Regions from separate parts of the Homo sapiens genome. Here regions 1 and 2 are each linked to region 3. The links are contacts of gene promoters, found by promoter capture Hi-C in human tissues and cell types (Jung and others, 2019). All regions are on one chromosome and are shown on one strand. Each heading gives the region's core, a stretch centred on a gene start or on the middle of the fragment in contact. The rest is flanking DNA. Distances are from core to core; before and after follow the strand shown.

The links. The method cuts DNA at HindIII sites, captures the fragments that hold promoters and counts their contacts. A contact is called where the count stands out against the background at its distance.
Region 1: a fragment that was not itself captured here is called in contact with the fragment with the promoter of BHLHE41 in region 3 in 1 of the 25 tissues and cell types used here (H1 embryonic stem cells).
Region 2: a contact is called between a fragment that was not itself captured here and the fragment with the promoter of BHLHE41 in region 3, in 1 of the 25 tissues and cell types used here (spleen).

Annotation. Positions count from the first base shown.
Region 1 is chr12:24,929,770-24,934,449 of GRCh38, forward strand. The region is part of intron 1 of BCAT1 (branched chain amino acid transaminase 1); the gene reads right to left. Among named protein-coding and RNA genes, the nearest start is that of BCAT1, 17 kb to the right of the region's middle. RefSeq lists an enhancer at 1,795-1,984. The HindIII fragment of the contact is 4,709 bases long and covers 206-4,680 here.
Region 2 is chr12:27,304,311-27,308,921 of GRCh38, forward strand. It overlaps STK38L (serine/threonine kinase 38 like), which reads left to right. Exons shown (of 14, transcript NM_015000.4): 4 at 4,029-4,151. Among named protein-coding and RNA genes, the nearest start is that of BMAL2, 26 kb to the right of the region's middle. The HindIII fragment of the contact is 4,420 bases long and covers 1-4,303 here.
Region 3 is chr12:26,122,993-26,127,226 of GRCh38, forward strand. BHLHE41 (basic helix-loop-helix family member e41) reads right to left here and starts at 2,045. Exons shown (of 5, transcript NM_030762.3): 1 at 1,726-2,045; 2 at 1,527-1,590; 3 at 1,080-1,187; 4 at 638-749; 5 at 1-176. The coding sequence starts at 1,787. It also overlaps a transcript of SSPN not described here. RefSeq lists a silencer at 3,457-3,626. The HindIII fragment of the contact is 3,249 bases long and covers 1-2,530 here.

The sequences.
Region 1 (4,680 bases), core at 1,310-3,809, 1.2 Mb before region 3:
TTCCTTTTCTGTAGCTCAGGAATACTATATAAACTTCAATCATCTGGCCTTTCTTTGAGTCTCATATTTTATGGGACTCCCATGTGTACGCACAAAATAAATTTATGTCTTTTCTCCTATTTATCTTTCTACTGTCAGTTTACTTCATAAACTCAGTTATGAAAAGGGTAAAGAAAGTTTTCTCTCTCCCACATCACTTTCCTCTCCATTCTCCAGCTGCTGTTTCCAGGACCCACGGGGTTAAGTGTGGACCATGAATTAGAGGAAATGGTTAAAAATCTCATTTGTCTGTGACCATTATAATCTGGCACTGGGGGCCCTCTCCTATGGCAAATGCCCAAATTCTGGCTTTCTATTGCATCATGGTCACTTACGGATTCTTCACAACCTCCCCTCCCCCTTGTCCTCACCTCCTGTGGAGACCACTGCCTTGCACAGCCCCACTGCAATGATGCACATTCTGTCTCACCTCTAAGGATTCTCCTTCAACCCCAGCTCTGGCATTATTCCCTACACAGCCTCTGACCCCTGGGGTCTCCTTGCCCCAGCAAGTAGCCTTCTTAGACAGTGTCCTTTTGAGGTGTTTCTATGACACCTTTCCTCAGAGTTCACATAGTTCATGACGTCTTTGCTCTACTAAACTCTGGAACTGCAAACTGCACCCACTGAAGACCCCTCTCTTGACTCTAACCACAGGCAGCACCAGCCAGCCTTGACTGTCCCAGGGCAGAGCTGACACTGCTATGTTCCGTACACCAGTGGCACAAGTCAAGTGTTCGCAAGCTACAGATCCTCTAGGCAAAGCATTTCTCACTTAATTTTTAGTGAATGCCCTGTTGGGGGAATGGGAGAATCACTTTTTTACCTCTTCCAGGGTAAAGAAGTTTCCAGAAATGCCAAGCTCTCCTTGCTTGGCTGACAATTTTTTATTTCCAAATAATCTTATTTCCTTTCTGTTCAATTTCCAGCCTTCTATTAAATATAAATTGGAGATAAGTTAGAGGCTAAAGCTTGCAGAATTAGTTTAGTCATCCTTTAGAAGGTTCTTTAGATGTGTCAAACGTGTTTGGAATTTGGAGGTAGTATCCCTCCATGCTCCGCACTGAAGCCTCAGTGGAACAGGGCCCTTTTTTTTTTTTTTTTTTTTTTGAGATAGAGTCTTGCTCTGTCACCCAGGTTGGAGTACAATGGCACACAATCTCAGCTCACTACAACCTCCACCTCCCAGGTTCTGGTGATTCTCCTGTCTCAGCCTCCCAAGTAGCTGGGACTACAGGAGCCCACCACCACGCCTGGCTAAGTTTTTGTATTTTTAGTAGAGACAGGGTTTCATCATGTTGGCCAGACTGGTCTTGAGCTCCTGACCTCAGGTGATCCACTCCCCGCTCAGCCTTCCAAAGTGCTGGGATTACAGGTGTGAGCCACTGCACCTGGCCCAGGATGCTATTTTTTTAAAGGATTAATCAGAAGAAATATGAAGAGTAAAATTTTAAAATTCAGGGGAAAGGCTGAAAGATAACATTGATGAGATCTTTCTCCCACCTCAAAAATTGGACACTAGGAGAGAAAAATTAAATTAGAAGATCAAACAAGGAGGTCTAATGTCAAACAAATAGAAGTTTAAGAATGAGAAAAGAGGGAAAGCAGAGGAGACGAAATCATCAAAGATATAGGAAAGGAAAATTTTCTAGGATGAATGACTAAGGACCCATGTTATGATAAAGCTCCCCAAATTAGCAATAAAAAGAGACCCTGAATACCTCAAGGAACAAAAAACAGGTTACACATAAAAAGGACCTGAAATACGAGCCCCTTTGGACTTCCTATCAGTAACACAGGAAACTAGACAACAGAAAAGCAATTCCCTTAAAATTCTGACGAAAAATCATTTCTAACCTAGGATATTATTCAAAATCAAGTATTAACCTAGAGCAAAAGTAGAACAAAAAGTCAGGCATGTAAGGAATCAAAACATCTACCTCTGATGCACTCTTTATCTAAAAACAACTAGAGCATACGTGCAACACAAATGAGGAAGTAAAGTAAAAAGGAGAACGCCACACGATTCAGAAAACCGGGGATGTAACACAGAGAGAGGGTAAAAGATGCCAAGAGGAAGTCTTAGGCAGGCAGCTGTGCAGCTGGCTCAGAGAGAAACCAGCACAAATTAGTGCAAGAATGAGAATGGTAGCAGAAAGAGTACAGAGACAAAAAAGAAAATGAACTGTCAGATACATTTAACCTAAGTAAAATTACATTGAGAGGCTGTCAGGAAGTTGGGAATTGGAAAGAATTCATAATAAATATATAGTAAGGTAAGTAAATAAAAGGAAATAATGCAAGAATTAACTGCAGGAAAAACAAAATGAGGTATAAGGGGAAAAAAATGTAACCATAGTACACTACTTGACTCACCAGTGACTTTTAAAAATGGAATTCCATCTACTACTCAAAACCTCTCAGGGGCATTTCACCACACTTAGAATAAAATCCACACTTACCAGGACTAAGGAACTTCAATGATGTGGCTCCACTCCTGAAATCTCCCCTCTCAGATTATGCTCTGGGAAGTTTCATTTGCTGTTCCATATGCATGGGACACTCTTACCTCCAGACCATGGTACTCAGGTGTCAGCTGAAAGTTCACCTTTTCTGTGAAGCTTTCCCTGACCAGTCAGTATAAATTTGTACCAGCTTTCTCTCAGTTCTGTCACTACTGCATCATTTCATTTTATTCATATTGCATCACTGACTGAAAATATTTGATATGTTACTATATGAGGATAAATTGTAATAATATTAGTTAATACTTACAGTACTTACATAGTACTTATTTCAGACCAGACCCTGTTATAAGTGCTTTATATTTGTTTTTGGATCTTTGTTGCAGACTGTCTCCTTCTATCGCACAGGCTGGAGTGCAGTGGCACAATCTTAACTCACTGCAACCTCCACCTCCTGGGTTCAAGTGATTCTCCTGCCTCAGCCTCCTGAGTAGCTGGGATTACAGGTGTGTGCCACCATGCCTGGTTAATTTTTTTGGTTTTTTTGTTTTGTTTTGAGATGGAGTCTCGCTCCGTCGCCCAGGCTGGAGTGCAGTGGCGCAACCTCGGCTCACTGCAACTTCTGCCTCCCAGGTTCAAGTGATTCTCCTGCCTCAGCCTCCCGAGTAGCTGGGACTACAGGTGCCCACCACCACACTTGGCTAATTTTTGTATTTTTAGTAGAGACGGGGATTCACCATATTGGCCAGGCTGGTCTCAAACTCCTGACCTTGTGATCCACCCGCCTCGGCCTCCCAAAGTGCTGGGATTACAAGCATGAGCCACCACGCCTGGCCTTTTTTTTTTTTTTTTTTTTTTTTTTTTTTTGTATTTTAAGCAGAGATGAGGTTTCGCTATGTTGGCCAGGCAGGTCTCAGGCTTCTAACCTCAAGTAACCCTCGGGCCTCAGCCTCCCAATGTGCCGAGATTACAGGTGTGCACCACTGTGCCTGGCAACATGTTATTTTATTTAATCCTCACATCATCCATGAGAGGTGGGTTGTACTAATACCACCATTTCATAAACAAAAAAACTGAGGCACAGTTTAATAACTTGCTGGTGGTCACTCAATAGCAAAGCTGGGGCTCACACACCTGCAGTCCAGTCCCAGTTTGTGCTCATAACCATGTGTTATATGGCCTTTCCCTGCAAGTTGCAGGAGAGCTGCAACTTTACCTGCTCTTCACCCTCTGATATGGTTTGGTTTGGCTCTGTGTCCCTACTCAAACCTCATGTGGAATTTTAATCCCCTCACGCCAGGGGAGGAACCTGGTCGAAGGTGATTGGATCTTGGGGGTGAATAGTGAGTGAGTTCTCACTTAAGTGGCTATGTTTTCTGGGGTATATACCCCAGGTTCATCCTCTCATGCCGGGAAAATTCAGAACAGACACACACAGGGAGTTTAGGAGCACAGGTTAATAGGCAGAAGAAGGAGAAAGGAAAACAGCCCTCTCTCTAATGAGAGAGAGGGGACTTCTGAGAGGAAACACCGGCGGGTGGCGAATGCACCAGATTTTATAGTCAGGCTTGAGGAGGTGGTGTCTGATTTACATAGGGCTCACAGATTGGTTCAATCAGGTATGATGTTCACATAGCGCACTGGGAAGGCTGGTCACCCCACCCTAATCTTATTATGCACATGAATTCTCCTCTTGGCCGGCACCAGCTTGTCTGCTCCTTACTGTACACTTGGCTGGCAGAGAAGGGAAAATGGAGCCGCCATCTTAACGTGTCTGGTTCCTAGTTTCTGCCGGCATTCACCCGTGCAAGCTCCCAGCTTGCTTGTCTATGTGTGGGGCTGCTTTTCATTTAAAAGAAAAGCCTTACCAAGGACTCCCGTACCCTCACTATCTACCTAAGTGATTTCTTCTTAACTCCTATATCATCATAAGATCTGATGGTTTAAAAGTGTGGCACTTCTCCCTTCTCACTGTGTCTCCTGCCACCATGTAAGATGTGCCTTGCTTCCTCTTCACCTTCTGCCATGATTGTAAGTTTCCTGAGGCCTTTCTGGCCATGATGAACTGTAATTCAGTTAAACCTCTTTTCTTTATAAATCACCCAGTCTCAGGTAGTTCTTTATAGCAGTGTGAAAACGGACTAATACACCCTCACAGCCTCAAGACCTTGAGCAG
Region 2 (4,611 bases), core at 844-3,343, 1.2 Mb after region 3:
TCAAATGATTAATTGAAATCAAATCAGTATCTAATCTTCCCTGTACCTTTCCTAGGACTGTAGCTGTTCCTTATAGTTGCAATGTTTAAATCAAATACAATATTTTATGACTTATACTAAAGGTGGTAACTTTGTTAATCAGTTGACTCAATCTAGAAAACTCAGATGTTTTTACATTTAAAATTATCTATCATTATTTACATGTCATTAATATTTTAAAAGCTCATTTATGTCCTTTAAATTTTAGTGAGAAAGGTAGTGATTTAAATCTGTATTCCAATCTATAGAGAAAAAATAAGACTGAGCATATCTTTCCTCATTTTAAAGTTAGAATTATAAATTTCTTATAATTAATAACCATATAATTGCATTTATATATTATACATCATTATATTGATATAGAAATCTTAAACATAAGATCTTAATTTGAAGTGTAGGGGAAGAGACTGCAAAAACAGATGCCCAAACACTAAGCAGGCAACGGAAGTGAGATAAGCTGGCCAGGTTGGTTTCATAGTGGCATCTAGGGTTATATTCTTTTGATCCAGATATACTTTGTTTACATATTCAACTTATATGATTTTTTTTTTGCTTCCACAAAGAAATAGATTAATATTTTTCCTTTTTAAAAAATATTATTTTCTTAAATATTGATCCTTACAGTTTATCTGTTGGCAAAGACATGCCACTTTTCACATTGCTGTAATAAGAGTCCCAGCCCATGTGGACATGCCTCCTAGGGACTCGCATCAGTGGTGGGGACTGACAAATTAGGGAACCAAGGCTCATCTAAAGAGGATTGCTACCATTGGCCCCTGTGGCCAAGGCCCTGTTTTTCCAGAGAAGCTAGTAATCTGGACTTTTTTTGCAGAATAACCAATCACCTGCTTTTGAAAAACAACTTGCAGTCCAAATCAAATATATCTGTAGGTTGAATATAGTTTGTAGCTTCCTGTTTGCAACTTCTGGTCTGCATCAGCAAGTACTGACTACATTTACAGCTATTTTCTCTAATTTTTCTGAATAACTTGTAGAAAATAGGAGATGATTTTTCCATAAAAAATAGTCAGTGGCCCATAATACCAGTTTATAAAACTTCTAATGTTTTTCTCTAAAAAATGTTTTTAATTCCACAGGTGCTTATTATTAGGCTCCATGCTAGAGCCTGGATTATATCAAATTCTGTAAAATAGACAAGCTCTCTCAACCTTAATATAAAGTATGTTACAGCATCTTTATATGGGGTGGGTTTGATAAAAAATAAAATTGTCTCATAAAAATAAAATAGATAAAGTTGCTAGCTGAACCCTTTTCATCTGAAAAATTTTGTATGCACTGTCTGTCTTATACAAATACTGGCCACCCTACAGATGGAGAGTTTGAGGAACACCTATATAAAAAGGAATGGAGAAAGGAAGAAAAGCACTTTCTAGTTTCATCTCACTTAAGAAAATCCCATCCAACATGGAATGTTATTTACTCTAATGAAAAACTAAATAGGCAAGTTCAAGCTATAAAAGAGAGTCGTGAAATGTTAAGCTGTCCACAGATTTTTATTGTCTTCTTTGAAGAGGAAAGGATGCAATTACCACAAGGATACTGTTTGTCTTTCAAGGCTACTTAATCTATACAGGTTGTGAGTAGATATATCAACAGGCTTTTTCACCAATTTTTTTTTTAACATGAATTTGATTCAGCTACCTCTGGACTGCAACACTGATTCTAAGACTAAAATCATGGAATCAATTTTTTTTAACTAATGTAACAATGTTATAGGTGATGCTCATTTTTATAGAATTATGTGTTCCATACACTTGTGACTCTCTCTTTTTGCTATTAAATGGCTGGGCCCAAAACCACATAAATTGTGTGAGTGCTGCATTATACAAACTACTAGACAATTTATGAAACTGTGTATAGTGATGTCATCTTTTCCATTCAGATTAAGCAGGATTTCTGCAACTATATCCAACTGTACTGTTTTATAATCTATAAAGGGAGAGATTCAAAATACTTTCAAAATTCTTATTCTTTTATGTAATTAAAAAAAAACCCTCCTCACTACTTCCTTAAAGGACATGATACTATAGTGCCACCAAGTGGCCTTTTAAAAATTAGTCTTAAAATTTAAAATCAGATACTTTTTAGAGCTCTCTTTTGTTTTACTAGTAATTTATTTTTTTATTATTCAAAAGGTATTTTTGAACACCTATGTGCAAAAAAGGGTATTTGTCATTGCATTTAGGTAAAAAGCAGCAAAAAATAGTCTTCACTATTGTTTCAGGCCACATTTGTTTTCTTAATTATATCAATGTAATTTTAGCTCCGTTAAAACTGATATTTAAGTAGCTTCCCTTAAAGAAAGCAGGAATTTGCCAGTGTTGGTATTTCAGGAATTTTATAAACACACACACACACACACACACACACACACACACACACATATATTTGAGATGGAGTTTCGGTCTTGTCACCCAGGCTGGAGTGCAATGGGATCTCAGCTCACTGCAACCTCTGCCTCCCGGGTTCAAGTGATTCTCCTGCCTCAGCCTCCTGAGTACAGGTGCATGCCACCACGCCCGGCTAATTTTTGTATTTTTAGTAGAGACGGGGTTTTACCATGTTGGCCAGGATGGTCTCGATCTCCTGACTTCATGATCCATCCACCTCGGCCTCCCAAAGTGCTGGGATTATAGGCGTGAGCCACCACACCCGGCTTATCGCCTCACTTCTTACTGAAAAAAATAATCTTTCATTGTTGTTTGCTTACTTTTTCCATAGTACCATTGTATTTTATAATCAATATCAGATGTGGAAAAAGACATTTAAAAAAAGACATTAAAGACATTAAAAAAAGACATTAGGCAAAGCCTGTTAATTTGTGTACTTGATTTTTATCTTCATTACTGTCATAATTTACACCATTGGTGTGCCTTAGTGTATAACTTCATTTAGCTGTTTGAAGACATTTCTTGATTTCATCTTCTTAGATTAACTTTGTTAGAAGTATCAGAATTCCATTGCATTGATAATACATGTTTACATACATATTTCTAATTAATAGTTCACCTAACCCTTTTAAAAACAGATATATACAGGAGTAGGGAGAGGCTATACCATGAGCTGCATTTAGAAGCAATGTTTCTAAGCTGTTACTTTCATTTTGATTTGTCTGTCCCTCCAAACTGAACCACTAAAAGCTTGGCAGGATTCAGTTGAAGATGAACAGGAGTTAAATTTTTTCACTGATATTGTTTCTTTTCCACTTAGTGTTTCCTCTACTAGGAGCTAACTATGTCCAAAAACAGAATTTTGATTGGTGAGGGTGAAAAATGAAGTTTAGAACAATAAAATAAATACCTGTTCCAAATGTAACCTGCAGGTATTTCACAGTATTGCTTATTAATGGAAGTTATTTTTTGTGGTCTTTGTAGAATCAGTTATGAAATTACCAACTTGGATATTTTAATGACTTCTTCTTGTAATTGTTTTTGCAATTTTATATTTTCAGGAAGTTCTATGCCAGGTCTCAAGCAGTTTATTAAAATTTGCCCAAGAGTAAATTCTACCACAAGTAAATCTCTTTGGAAACACTACCATTATGTTGTTATTTTATTGTCACAAGTCTCAGTAGTTGTGAAAGAGCAACCTTGGAAATTAAGGAATTGAAGCAAAGCAGATTTCCTGACAGAATAAAAATCAGTATCAGAATACCATTAACATTTACTAACATTTAATTTTTATTTATGGAATTGTTACCATATAGATGAAAGAATAAGTTATACATATATATATATATAGACAAATATGATGGACTGAATTACATATTTAATGGAGTCCACCTCAAAAGTAAAGATTTATCAGTTGTTAAAAATTTTAGAAAGTTTTCTTTAAATTGTTTTAGCCTAATAGTATATTACATATTAGTGCTATCATTTATTTTTACGTGTATCATCTTTTAATACTAGAAGCTCCATCAAAACAACCTAATTATAAAATCATCCGTTTAAATTGTTTTTTTTTAATAGAAAAAGTTACGTCGATCACAACACGCTCGCAAAGAAACAGAGTTCTTACGGCTCAAAAGGACCAGACTTGGCTTGGATGACTTTGAGTCTCTGAAAGTTATAGGAAGAGGAGCTTTTGGAGAGGTGTGCTTCTTTTTAAAAGTCACTACTGCTGCAAATATATATCTTAAGATAATTTAAAATATGTGTTAAAATATAATTCCTGGCTGGGTGCGGTGGCTCACGCCTGTAATCCCAATACTTTGGGAGGCCGAGGCGGGTGGATCGCCTGAGGTCAGGAGTTCGAGACCAGCCTGGCCAGTGAAACCCCGTCTCTATAAAAATACAAAAATTAGCTGGGCGTGGTGGTGGGCACCTGTAATCCCAGCTACTTGGGAGGCTGAGGCAGGAGAATCGCTTGAGCCCAGGAGGCAGAAGTTGCAGTGAGCTGAGATCCCACCATTGCACTCCAGCCTGGGCAACATGAGTGAAACGCTCTCTCAAAAAAATATATATATGTGTTTGTATGTATATATAAAAAAATATATATAAATATAAATATATATAAATGTAAATATATAAATATATATAAATATATATTAAT
Region 3 (4,234 bases), core at 795-3,294:
CAAGAACTGGGTGGCCACGGCGTGCAAGTGGTTGATCAGCTGGACACACCGCGGCTCCCTGGGTGTCCAGCTCTCAAACCGGGAGAGGTATTGCAAGACTTCTTTGGCGCATGTTTGAAATCCCGAGTGGAACGCATCCAAGTCGGACTGAATGGGCGATTTCAGAGATCGCTCCCCTAGGATGAGGAAGGGATGGGGGTGGGGGACGGAGGAGTGGAGGCAAGAAGAAACATACCCACGTTAAAACATCTGCTTATCACGTGGGCCCTGCATCGACTAAAGTGATCTCGGTTTTTCCCCAGTATTCAAGTGATATAATCCACCAGTTGACGAGAGAAGCGGGGTGGCGGAGGTGCGGAGCGGGGAGAGGGCGCTCTCCTCCCAGCTGAAAACCAAAGTGGAGCGGGTGCAACCGCCACTTTAAATCCTGATTCCTCCGAGTTCTGCTGAAAGCCTCTAGGATGCTTCGGGAAATGGGCTCGTTCCAATGAAGGGAAAGTATAAGCAATTTAACAAATGAGAGGGAACCCATGAGCCCACGGAAAGAGATGGGGTGCGGGTGAGGGAGTCCTGACACTGCTCCCCTGTGGGCTGCCCCGCTTCATCAGGGTAGGCTGGCCTCCCTGAACTGACTTACCATTCTGTAAAGCAATTATCTTCTGATGCTGTTGCTCGGTTAAGGCGGTTAAAGCTTTTAAGTGTTTCAAAGTTAATTCCAAGACTACAGCTTTCTCCAGATGTCCCAGAGTCTGCAGTGGTGCAAAAAAGAAACGGGCACTTGGTTACTTAAAAACACACATTTGGCTTAATTGGCTGTCCATTCAGCACAGCAATTTAAGCAAACACTTTGAAAGAAGTACTGTTCTTTTACTTCTTGAGCTTTCCACAAGACAGGTTATAAATGATTTCTTGCCTTCAGCTGGGAGCACCTACTCCAGTTTGCGGGAAACTCTGTACGGTATAGCACAAGTTTTAAGTCAGGAACTTATATTTACATTTATTCTTATATTTTCTGGGAGTCGCACCAGACTATTAACACGCCCTTGGAGAGCAGCAAAGAATGAAAATGTGCATCTTACTGTCAATTTCAGATGTTCAGGCAGTAAATCTTTCAGCTGAGCAATGCATTCATTAATTCGGTCTCTTCTTTTCTTTTCTATTAATCTGTGCGGTAATTTGTAGGTATCCTTAATATATGAGAGTCATGGAAAAGAGAAAACAGTAAGCGAAACATTCACTTATTGGATATTACCCTCGTCTGCCCCCCCCGCCCCCCCACCATAAAACATACTATGTGATAAACTACACCCAAGAAACCTCTTTCCTCTGGACTGTTCTGCAATGCAATTTAAATTCAGGTATGATGTTTAATATCCCCCTGAGAGTACCCAGCAAGCCACTTAAAATTCACAGTTGGGGAAGCTCAGGGGCTGGAATATATTTGCGGGCAGAGCTTCACTGTGAAATCAATGGCTCTAATTAACTACCCATGCAGGTTATGAGGAATATCGGGAACTTACACTTACCTTGGTGTCGTCTCGTTTCATGCTCCTTTTGGGTTTACACATATACAAAGAGGAATAGTCCAGTCTGCAAAACAGAAATCAGCATCAGGCACCCATTCGGGGAGGGGCTCTGCCCTCGCCAGCTCCATACCACTTTCTGGAGAAGAAAAAAATCAAACCAAAGCCTAGACAGATATTCGCAAGGGTGCGTGCACCTTACCCTATAAAATCTCTATGTTCCAGTAACTGTCTCTCTTGCAAATGAGGAATTCCTTCGTCCATGTTCAACTGCTGTTCGTTTCCTCTGTTTCGATTTTTGGGGCTCTGTACAATAATCTGTGGGACGGTAGGCTTGGGAGACCTTGGGGGGATCTGTGCGTCTCCAGTCTCTCTCTCGCTCTCCCTCTTCAGTGCAGTGTTGAAAGTGTGAAGCAGTTGGTCCCCCCCCTCCACCGCGCTCGCACACACACACGCACACACACGCACACTCGCGCCGGCCCCACTGCGCTGGTAGTTTGCTCTCACTCCAGGCAGTGTTTGGCCACAGGGCACGCGCGTCGCCGGCCAGACCAGCACCCAGCTCACGTGCGGAACGTACCATCCGCGGTCCAGCCCGGAGGGGGGCGGGGGAGGAGGGGCCGGGCCGGGCGGGGGCGTCGGGAGAAGGCGGCGAGAGAAGGCGAACGGCAGGAGGGGGCGGGGACACCTGATCAGGGCCACCGGAAAGGAAAAACAACTTCGGCCAAGCTATTCATCTTCCCAAAGGCGATGCAGTCGGCAGGAGGAGGGGGGAGTGGGGGTGCAGGGGTGCGGGGCAGCCTGAGCTTCCTTGGCTCCAAAATGCGACTCCCTGGGTTCGTCCGTTGTTACGGTGCAGGAATGTGAACGTGGCTTTTTGCTTTTCCACCGATTGTGCTGTTGGTTTGAACCATAGAAAGGAAGTGAAAAGAGAATTCGCGGTGGGTAAACTTGAGTCCCAAAGGAAATTTTGGAGACTTGTTTGCTCACTGATCAGTGGCCTGGAGGGACTCCTTGGCGCTGGGTGGAGAGGTTGCCTCGAGAAGAAGCAACTTGCAATCCGCTCCTTGAAGGATTTAAGATACATGAAAACGTTGTCACTGGGTCCGAATGTCGCAATCCAAGTGTCTTTCGGTGACACGGCGTCCCTGGGCCAACTAAACTTCCCCGCAGCAGCCGGAATTGCGGTGCCACTAATCACAGCAGCAGATGACGACGTTTGGGGCCGCGTGTGCTCCTGGAGGAACGCGGCGGGGAGCGAGCCGGGGTTGAGTGGGGGCTGGGAAGGGAGAAGGGGGTGGCACGAGAGGGGGTGGCACGAGAGGGGCTACCACAGAAAAGCTATGCAGCATTTATCACCCGCCCGCTCAACTCTGCCGCGTTCTGAGCCTCCGGTGACGCTACGTGCTTTCCCCATCCCCCCGCCCCCCCGCGCGATAAGAGACGCCCGGAGTGTGCAGAGCCCACGTTTACTACCGCTGGCACCTCCAAAGCCTCCCTCCTTAATCCGGTCTCAAACGGGTACCAGCACAGGGCCAGCAACGTGATCCGACCTGCCGCTGCTGCCACATCACTGCTCGGGGAACCCGTGCGCGCGCGCGCTCGCCCTGCAGCCGCGGCGCTCGGCGCCGGGAATCACAGGCCAGCAAGAGCCGGGTTACCTTTCCCCAGAGCCACCCTGGGAGCATGACTCACTGCTAGTGAGAGTTACCGGGAGGTGCCCGGGGATGCGCACTGCCCACGCCGCCCTGCCAGCCCAGGGGAAGGCATGTCCTGAGGGACTCCCAGGGGTGGGATGGAGGCTATATATATATTTCTCTAGATATACATAAAGACATAGAGAAAAAAACCAAGGTTTTTCCTGCACAGAGAGGGATATTTACATTCTCCCCGGGGTGATCTCTGAAACGTTGATTATTGCCGGTGATAAGTGAACCGAGGGGAGAAGAACGCCAAAGGTACATGCACCAGGGCGCAGCAGGGACTGGGGCGCCCGCTACGTGTCCCCCGGCCCGCCCCGCCGGGCACGGGTTCCGGGGACGGATCTGGGTCGCGGGAAGCGGCGGCTGGGAGGAGGTCACGTGTCTGCGGGAGTCGCGTCTCCTCCCCGACTCCAGGAGCAGCCCGGGCCGCGGCGGCCGCTCGCGCTGCTGCAGTCTCCGGAGTCCTGGGCGGAGACGCGCACTGCGTCTGGCTTCGTGACTCGGGCGGCGGCGGCGGCCCAGGATCACCCCGGCGTGAGGAGACGCTCGCGGTCCGTTCAGTTCATCTGTTTAGAGGGCCTTTTAAGGTCTCTCGACTTCCTCAAATAGAGGAACGTATTTTGCACCAAACAGGCAATTTAATCACGATGGTTCTTAATTTAAAAAGTATTTTTAAAATGCTGACTTTATTTTAAATCTCGGTCCGACCTCTCTCCTATTTCCAAAAGGTTAGGTAATTAAGACCCTTCGATGGGGAGGGCACGTTGGAGCCCTAAAAGCGACCTATTCCTGCAGTACTGTATCATTTTTACCTCTTTTTAATTGACTAAAAATGGGAATGCCGTTAGGTGAATAATTTAAAAATTAAAACACCAGGTCCCCTTCTAGATTTCTGAATGTTTGGAGTAGAAAGGGGATGTAAATATTTGCTCCAGAGCTAAATTTCACTTGAAAAGGATGACTGGTTAGGGAAAATGAAATAAAGACAAGATCATTGCATTTTGGCCT